3 separate regions of the Homo sapiens genome follow, and all the other regions are linked to region 2. The links are contacts of gene promoters, found by promoter capture Hi-C in blood cells and fetal thymus (Javierre and others, 2016). All regions are on one chromosome and are shown on one strand. The core of a region is centred on a gene start or on the middle of the fragment in contact, and the rest is flanking DNA. Distances in the headings are between cores, read along the strand shown.

What was found. The method cuts DNA at HindIII sites, captures the fragments that hold promoters and counts their contacts. A CHiCAGO score of 5 or more calls a contact.
Region 1: a fragment that was not itself captured here is called in contact with the fragment with the promoter of PCGF5 in region 2 in 3 of 17 cell types (naive CD4 T cells, naive CD8 T cells and non-activated CD4 T cells); the score reaches 7.8 in naive CD4 T cells.
Region 3: a fragment that was not itself captured here is called in contact with the fragment with the promoter of PCGF5 in region 2 in 1 of 17 cell types (naive CD8 T cells); the score reaches 5.3 in naive CD8 T cells.

The regions. Positions count from the first base shown.
Region 1 is chr10:91,021,459-91,024,210 of GRCh38, reverse strand. LOC124902479 (a long non-coding RNA gene) reads left to right here and starts at 733. Exons shown (of 2, transcript XR_007062238.1): 1 at 733-888. The HindIII fragment of the contact is 3,179 bases long and covers 1-2,752 here.
Region 2 is chr10:91,219,279-91,222,326 of GRCh38, reverse strand. It overlaps PCGF5 (polycomb group ring finger 5), which reads right to left and starts at 1,664. Exons shown (of 10, transcript NM_032373.5): 1 at 1,491-1,664. RefSeq lists silencers at 1,041-1,335, 1,025-1,484, 1,555-1,864 and an enhancer at 2,055-2,124. The HindIII fragment of the contact is 12,523 bases long and covers 1-3,048 here.
Region 3 is chr10:91,075,134-91,078,084 of GRCh38, reverse strand. No RefSeq gene overlaps it. Among named protein-coding and RNA genes, the nearest start is that of LINC00502, 31 kb to the right of the region's middle. The HindIII fragment of the contact is 2,286 bases long and covers 547-2,832 here.

The DNA.
Region 1 (2,752 bases), core at 227-2,726, 200 kb after region 2:
AGTTCTATTTCTGGCATGCTTTAATGACAACCTTGTCTTAGAAATATTTTTTTTTGTGCAATGTCTTTTCAGTGTCATTGAAAGTGTTTTTAATTTCAAAGAGAGGCTGTGGCACGGGATGTTAATCAATGAAATTCTGGCACGCTTTTCTATGAACAGGGCTCGTTATTTATATTTACCAGTGACAGAGATGAGTTCTTCAACCCAGGCAATATTATCATTCATGCCTGGTTAATTAAGGAAGAAACAAATGCCTTAGGAAACTCATCCTGATATTAGAGGGAGGGAGAAGGACCTATTTTAGGTCTTGGGATATTTCATTTCCCCAAAGCCCTCCCTGTGAGTCACAGGACAGAAATTGGAGGCAGAGAAAGCAGAATAGCATAGTCGTCCAGACTAAAAAATAAGTTTTGGCTGAAAGACTGGATAATGGCATTTATGTATTCCTTGCTTGTGAGGTTCTGCAGTGCTTTCTGTTATGTATGCATGGGATGCAGCAGGCAATGCCAGCGTTTTTGTTCCTCTGAATTCCTGTCGTTGGACACTGCCAGGATTTAGGGTAGGGTCAGCCCTGGGCCATTTTAGCCCCAATAAAGGTCTGTTTTATTAAAGGCCTGCTTGTCCCTTGCCTGTTTACTGCTGCCTAATACAACACGTTCTTTATCTCTTTTTGGCTCTGCCCCAAAGAAAGCAGGGAGGCTTGTTGCTGCTTGGATTCCAGTTTCTGTCTCCAGTCTGGTCTTGTGGGGTTTAGGGGCTGGAAATGGGGAAGAGCTAGAGCACAGCATTTAGGATTGAGTTTTATACTATTCGGTACTCCAATTATGAAAACAACGATGATGATGCTTCTGACCTGCCCTGTTGGGCTGTTTCTTCCCCATCCTTTTGGTGAGTAGCTGTGCTGTGTCATTCTCATGCTCCCCTGTCCTTCTGGTGATGACGAGGCCCATGTTGGAACCTACAGAAGTGAGAAGTGAAGACTGTGACCCTGGAGGGTGTTGCACTGGGAAAACTAGCTGGTATATTGGGAATGTGAGCTATGAGTTTATCTGAATTTTAACCATGTTCTCACTAACTTATCTGGTCCTGAGGGTCACCAAGCTAACAGGCTGGGTCAACCATCAGCAGAGCCAGCTTCCTGAGCATGTGATCTACGAAGTCACACAGGCTCTGCACTTAAAAATAAAAAGCCCTCCCCCTGGTTTAAGTTCTGCTACCATCATCTGGAAATTTCTTAAGACCTTTTAAACAAAGGGTCCACATTTTCTTTTTGCACTGGCCCTTGCAAACCATGTAGCCAGTCCTGACTGTAAGATCAGATCTTCAAACAGTCCTAATACAGTCGATTGTGAAGATAGTTTAGCTTTTAGGCTTCCCCAGCAGTATTACAATTTCCAGAGGATTAAAGGAAGCACCTGAGGCAGTGAGAAGGAACACCTGCTGAATCCTGAGATCTATCTACAGTACAGGAGCCAGGCTCATTGATTCTGTCGAAAGGCAAAGTGTGATGCAGCCTTGAACATGCCCATCCCAGCAGTGCTAGGGTGCTCAGAGAAGAGGGTGATTGGCAGTGGCAGATGCAGCTGTGCGGTCAAGGAGGAGAAGCATAAAGAGGCTTTTTAATATGCCCTCAAAGAAGTAATTGGAGACCTGGAGAAACTGTAGAAGAGAAGAGTACAAGCTGGCTGGAATCCAGAGGAGAATTCCACAAGTGGAATTGGAGATAGCAAGAAAGAGACCATGTTAGAGGAATTTAGAGTGGGTGAGAGTTGGTGAGGGCTGAATATTTGTGGATGGGTAGCCTGTACCTGTCTGAAGGTCACTGGAAGGCAGTGAGGGCAGAGGGAAAAAGTGATGAAGGAGTAGGGAAGAAGAACATAGTCTGGAAAACTGACGCTGCAAAGGAGAAGTTAGAGAGGGAGTAGATATTACAAAGGATCCAGCATGTATCTGAGAGTCTCCATATCCTCACCTCTCAATTGGTAAGACTCTGAGCAGCAAAGGAGTGCGACTGAAGGAAGGCTGCTTCTGCAAATCTAGTCTGGAAACATCTGCAGCAAAATCACATATGGTGCTTATTACAAATGTATTTTCTAGATCCCATCCTGGACCTTCACTATCAGGTCCCTTGAGGACTTGGAGTTGGGAGGGCAAGAATCAGGCTTTTAAACAAGAGTTTCAAATAAATCCTGATGAAATTCAACCTTTAAAAGAAAGACGACGGAGGAATACAGCTAAGGCAGATTTTGGAGGCCTGACCATATGGCACAGTGATGCTGAGGCTGAGTGAAGAAGGAAGAGGTGTAAGCACAGGTAGCCCAGGCCTGCTAGTATGGAGGCCAGCCTAGCCTGAGATAACAGCAATGTCCCTCTGTCACAGAGGGAGGTTCCTGCCTGCAAAGTCCCCAAAGGGACTTCCTGCCAACCACATTCCTACCACCCCTTACCTTGCTGGAAGTGACTGTTTCCTGCAATCAGCAAGTGGGATAAAGAATTTCCAGTAAAGACTATGCTTCTGAAAGTTGAAGTCTGGTCTATCTTGCTTTTGTAAGATTATGCTTGCTTCTTAGATTCAGCCTCTTACACTGTTTCCCTAGCTGCCAGGTTCCTGTTCTCTTTCAAATCCTTGATTAATCCCTGATTGATGTTTCACTAATCAACTGATGATTTCTTCCAGACAGACTAGTTTTGCTCCTCTGCTGTCTGATCCTTAGAGAACTTCTCAAAGTATCAGTCATGTCATAATTTCTGA
Region 2 (3,048 bases), core at 415-2,914:
CAAAATGTTCCCCATTTCCATTTTTAACCCTTCATCCAGTTACGAGTCAAACCAAGTTGATATCCTCTGCTATTCCATGCCCGGCTGCTCTACTTGTATATCACCTCTCCACCTGCAGTCCATCTTATATTCTGCTACGAGGCACATTTTATTTTGTGACACTTGGTTGGGTCTTCTTATCAACGAATGTCAGTGTCTTCTCTTTACAAACAGAAAAATGTTTCCCATTCTGTCACATAAGACCTTCTACAGGTTAACCTTAATATACCCTTCAACAACTTTCTTCAACCTGAAGGGATCACTCCTCTCCCACCGTCTCCTCTGCAGGTTCTAAGCACTCTATCCAACACGCCCTTTCTCTCCTCTGTCTGCATGCCACCTATCCTTCAAGCCCTTCTCCAATGCTATTCTCAGTGCAATCTTTCCCTAGTTTTTAATGCTTACTTCTTTCCTATTACATTTGCCTTTTATTTTGATTTATAGTTACGTTCATTCTTTACCTTCTTTGTTAGACCAAAAACTCTTCAATAGAAACTGGTCATATTTAGTAGATATATAACCTGGATAATGCTACTTTCCTGTCTCAGGTTTTTTTTTTTTTTTAACTGTAAAATATGTATCCTCTCAGAAAACACAACATGAAAGGTGTTGATTTTCCTAAGTGCATTCTATAAACAGGAACTTTCCCCCATCTTAGCTGTTAACTCATTGGTAAATATAAAGCAACCGGAAAGGTAAAAGGCATTCCATCAACACATACCCACTGCGAATGTGCAGGGAATAGGCTCTACGTGTAATCATCCTATCCTCTTGGGAAACCGTATTCGTGCGTGTAACAGAAAGCAAGCATAATTAAAAGACAGGGAATCAGGGTTCTGGCCCTTACCCCTGTATGACCTTCAGCAAACCGTTTCATATCTGAGCCTGGGTCTCGGCTTCCTCCTCTATAAGTTGGGATTAACTGCCTTGCCTTTCCCACAGGTTTGCCATGAAACTCCAAAGTAAGAGAAAGTCCTCTGGAAGAGGAAATGCACGGTCCCGACCTGGGGTGGTACTAAGATCCTAAGGCACAGAGCCCTGTGACCAAGACAGTTAAGGGAAGCAAGAACTTGCAATGACGGGGCGGGGGCAAGGGGGAACTTTTCTGCGTTCTCCGGCAGGACCCAGCGGTACAGCCCTGTGGGGTCCCAGCACAGCCGCGCCCGCCCGGCAGGTGCGCGGGCCCAGGCCCCGCGGGCGCGCTGCTCAGGCCGGGGAGAGCGAGCAGCCTTTCCCGGGGCCGGCGTCCGCAGCCGGCCGCTCTCCCCGCCGAGGTAGGCACAGCTCCGAAGCCCCCGCCCGGGTCGGTAGCCCCCTGCACCCGAAGGGCCCTCCCGGCTCCAGGCTGGGCCGGCCAGGGCAGGTGTCTGGAGGTGTCGCTCTCGCCTGAGGCGCAAACTTGGGTGAGGAGTCTGGCGTCCCTGCAGCTCCCCAGCCCGCCCGGTACCTACCCAGCGGCCGCCACCGCCGCCGCTCCTCGCCCGCCAGCGCGCCGGCCTCAGAGTGAAGGAAAGTGAAACAGAAACAGCACCCGCCGCGGCCTGGCCGGTCCCCGCGCCCCGTCTGCTCTCCCCCTGCAGGCGGGAGCGCGCCGGCTCTGTGGGGCCACTCGGCTCAGGCCCGACAGGGCGCGGCGGGCCTCGGGGCCCAGGTCCGGTGCCGCCTCCAAGGGCAACTCCACCCACTTCCAACCGGCGGCACCGCCCGCCCCGCCGCCCGGCCACGCCCCCGCCGCCCGGCCACGCCCACCACCACGCCCGGAGGCCGCGCCTGCCGCCTGCGCTGCTCGCAGGTGCAGCTGCCGCCCTGGCTCCCTGTGCTACACGTAGCTCTGGCCAAATATTATCTCGGTTCTTCTTATCCTCACCGTCCACCCCTTCGGTTGTTTACATCATAACAATGACTGGCATATTTTCCCTGGAGGGTTTAAAAGCAACGGTCAGTGATGAGACTGACGCACCCTGAGAATTTGTCTCTTCAGCTGCGTCTTCCCCAAGTCTGTCCCACCTGCGCCGAAGTGGGGACAAAGCCATCCCTTGATTTGCACCTTATCTGAAAATGACTGACAAACTTGTTACTGTAGTGTGGGTCCAGAGATCATGGTCGTTGACAACTATAAGCAAACGGGAACGTTGTGGAGGTTGAGGGTGGGGGGAGGGTGAGTGGTAAAGAAGCATTACTGTTTGCAACGTTCAAAACAAACAAAAACCCAGTACTCTTTCTAGTGGACTTTGAGATCTACAAGAGACCATTCACTGCAAAAACCTTCATTCAAAAATGTGTATTCTAGAAGCCAGAGCAGTGATGGCTTAAGAAAATGACAATAATAGAGGGTAGGGGAGACTGTCAATGCAAAATATTTGCTTTTTCTCCAACTGATAGGCGTTAACTTCTTACTAAAGTGATAGATGACTCTAAGTGGCAAACCAACAAACTTAACAACCGCTAGTCCAGCAGCCATACAAGTGTTCAAAGATCCATTTCAAATTTAAAATGCATCAAGCAGTAGACCAAGGCAGCTTTTTAAACTATCCATTTTATAATCAAACTTTGACATGTTTAAAAATTGCCATTTCTAATATCACAGCAGGAGCAATACATTTTCTGAAACAGCTTTAAATGACCACATTCGTATAGTCCTTTAAAGAACCATTTTCCAAAATCATACATGCCAATGTCCAAGCTGGGATCAACTTCATAAGTCGCAGCAATCACAATGAGTAAGAGAAAACAAGTGAGGTCAAATGACTTCATGGCAGTAGGATTACTCTTTATGCTTCATATCTTTCATTTCAGAGACTAAACAGAACAGTATGTGAAAAATCACACTACTTCTAGTGTGTTTAAAATATGCATTGGAGGATATTACTGTATATATACCACAATATATAAAAAAGACTTGGTATGTTCCTATTTTGTGTCTGAAACTATTTTAAATATGTTTTAAAAGAATAACAGTGGAGTCCAGGGGGCTTAAATGTGATTGGTGACCTATCACAAGTGCGGTTA
Region 3 (2,951 bases), core at 440-2,939, 140 kb after region 2:
GATTCACATTCAATGTAAATAAGAAATAGTCTGTGATTCTGCAGTTTTGTTTCCTGACCCAGCATGTCCTGCAAAAATAGAAATGTCAGTGCCTGGCAGTGGTGGTGCATGCCATCTGAGATTGCGACCTGAAAGACCAGGAAGGCGCTGGCTTTACAGCCAGCTGGCAGGCTGCCATTGCCAATGGGAAAATCATTCCTGTGTGATAAGACAGCGACAAATGCTTTCCCTGTGGCTGCGATTAAAGCGGGCTCTGCATTATGACAACAGTGCTTCAAGCTTTGCATAGCAGTCATTTTTGCTAAATATTCATACGCTTATTTATACTCTCCCAGGCCTTGCCTGAAATCAGGGAGTTTAGAATTTCAGGCACAAACTATTTCCCTTTTTGGGAAGAAAGATTAGTGGACACAGGCATGGAGGAGTTGAGAAAGGGGTGGGAAAAGGGAAAGACGATTTTGTAATCAGTCTTTAGAACCGTGTATTTCTCTGGATGCTTAGTAGAAGGGAGTTACTAATTGTGTAGGGTGTGTATCCGTGTAAGCTTCAATCCTGGGGGGCCGTATTTGTCCTAACCCAGCGACACTTAAATGTGTGTTGAATAAATAAATGAATAATCTACAAAAATGGTACGATGTCCTCTGGGGCAGAGACTAAAGGTTGTGTTTGTAACCATAGAATCTACTCAGGGTTCCCGGCTCATGGAATAAACTCAAATACATGTTTTTGGATTAGTTAATGGGTGAGAAAAGGAAGGGAGGAAAAGTAGGAGGGAGGGAAGAAGGGGGAGACGGTGAAAGGAAGAGAGGAAGGAAGAGTTTGAGAACAGACAGTTGGGCTGGCTACTTCACTTCTCCGGACCAGTGCACTTGGGTGCCAAGAAGCAGCTTTGTTTGCCTTCTCTAGCTGTTTGTTACACCTGACTTAGGGCCATAAAATCTCAGGCCTTTTTAGTGAGCCTTTTCACAGTTTGTTAGCCCTTTGTAATTTACAAAGCATCTCAGAGGTTTCCAGGAGGCACTGGCCACTAGAAAAATTCTTGTCTTTATTAACCCTAGCTCCTCTTGTACACCTCCCCCAACTAGGAAAGATGTGCATGTCTGTCATTCAGGGAGACAGAGGGGAGAAAGGGAGAGAAGGGACAGAGGGGAGGAGTAAAGGGGGAAGGAGAGAGGGATGGAAGGGGATAGAGGGAGGGAGGAAGAGAATGAAAGAGAGATGCTGGAACACAGCTGGAAGACAGCTCTCCCATGAGTCCTCCGGAAGCCCACCTGTCAGCACTTTTTTGTCTTCCACATGCCCTTCTGCATTCACGTGGAATTTTGTTCCTGCTTATGTCCATTTAAGAGCTTATGGGCTTAAGGCTTCAAGTGTTGAAATAAATACTGAGAATTTATGGCACCTTGGGCAAGACTATGGAGGAGGAATATGGACATTTCATCCTCCTTTAAGTTGCCCCCAGTGAAAGCAGTGGACAAAATTTTCTCCAGGTTCCTCCTATGTGTAACAAATTAGAAACTAGTCTGAGAATCCAGACCACTGGTCCCTGTCTCATGTGTGCCTCCAACCAGCTGTGTAAATGTGGGCAAGTCTATTCTCTCTGGGTCCTGGTTTGCTCATGTGGGTAAAGGACTGGTGGTACTGTAGGATCTCTAGAGTCTTTCTTGGCTACAGCTCATCTGCAATTCTAAGGAAGGCCCTAAAGACCCCCATCCTCTTGTGATGCTTATACCCAGGAGTTCACTGTTCCCAAGGAGCTTTAGATGAAGGACACTGAGTAATCACTGTCCCCAAGCTACCCCTATTTGATTTTGTCAAGCTCAGTACTGTGGTAGAGAGAAAGATAACCTGGTAGACATTAGAGGCACCCAGATATAGAGCCATAGTCATTTGAAAGCATGAGGTTGCCTCCTGCCTTGCCTTCCCTGTCCTCCTCACTGGAGACACAAATGCCTTCACTCTGCAGCTCAGCCTTAGATAGTCCCTGGGCCAAGGCAGGGATTACCCTGGTATAGATACAAAACCTGGTGTGACTCTTGGGTAAAACAACAACGATGATGATGTATTTGATTGACTCTATACCCACAAACTTTGGAGTGCCAGAAATACCATACTTCTGTGTTTATTTAAAAGTAAATTCTATCTCAGTGTTTCCATCCTTCCAGGCAAATGGGAAATCCATCCTACTTAGTATTGAGGCTCCACACTGATAGCTATTGGATTAAATGTTCCTGGATTTTCCAATGGTAGAGCATTAGCATGCACCCTTTGTTAACTGATTGGCTGGTTATTGCTAAGCCTTTCTTTGTTCCAGTTCAAATTCTCCCCTCGCATCTGGCATCTCTGCCCCCACCACCTCCAAACATGGTATTGTACGATGAGGCTTGGAGCTTCCCTGGGGCACAATGCAGTAGTTCCCCCTATGACATACTATTCGTGGGACTCTGCCAGAGAGTGGAGAGAGGGTCCCTTCTGTTTATGGGTTCTGAAATAATCCCTTCTCTTTCCTCTTGTCCAAAGTTCATTTCTTATTCTCTCTTCCTCTCCCAGGAACATCTTTTCAATAAATTTAGGTATTAAAGTCTAGGGGAGACTTCAAGCAGTTTGTGATTTAGGCCTTCAGAAGAAGACCTTAGATACAAGAAAATAGCATGAGTTTTAGTTAGGGTATTAGGCCGAGTAACTGTGTCAAGAAACACAAACGTAAGATGACTCAAAAAGCAGCCAGTCACTGAGCCAGTGAGGCATCTCTTGCTCCATGTGGTCCTGCAGGGACACAGGGCTCCTTCCACCTTCTAGTTCTGCCATGTCCCCATCTTCATGGCCAAAGCTTTGTCACCTTTATGTCTGTGGCACAGCCTGCAGAAAGGGCAAACTTGTCTTTAACAAGATGATCTAGAAGCTGTTGTGTCACTTTTATTCTTGAATCATTGACTGAACTAGTTCACAAG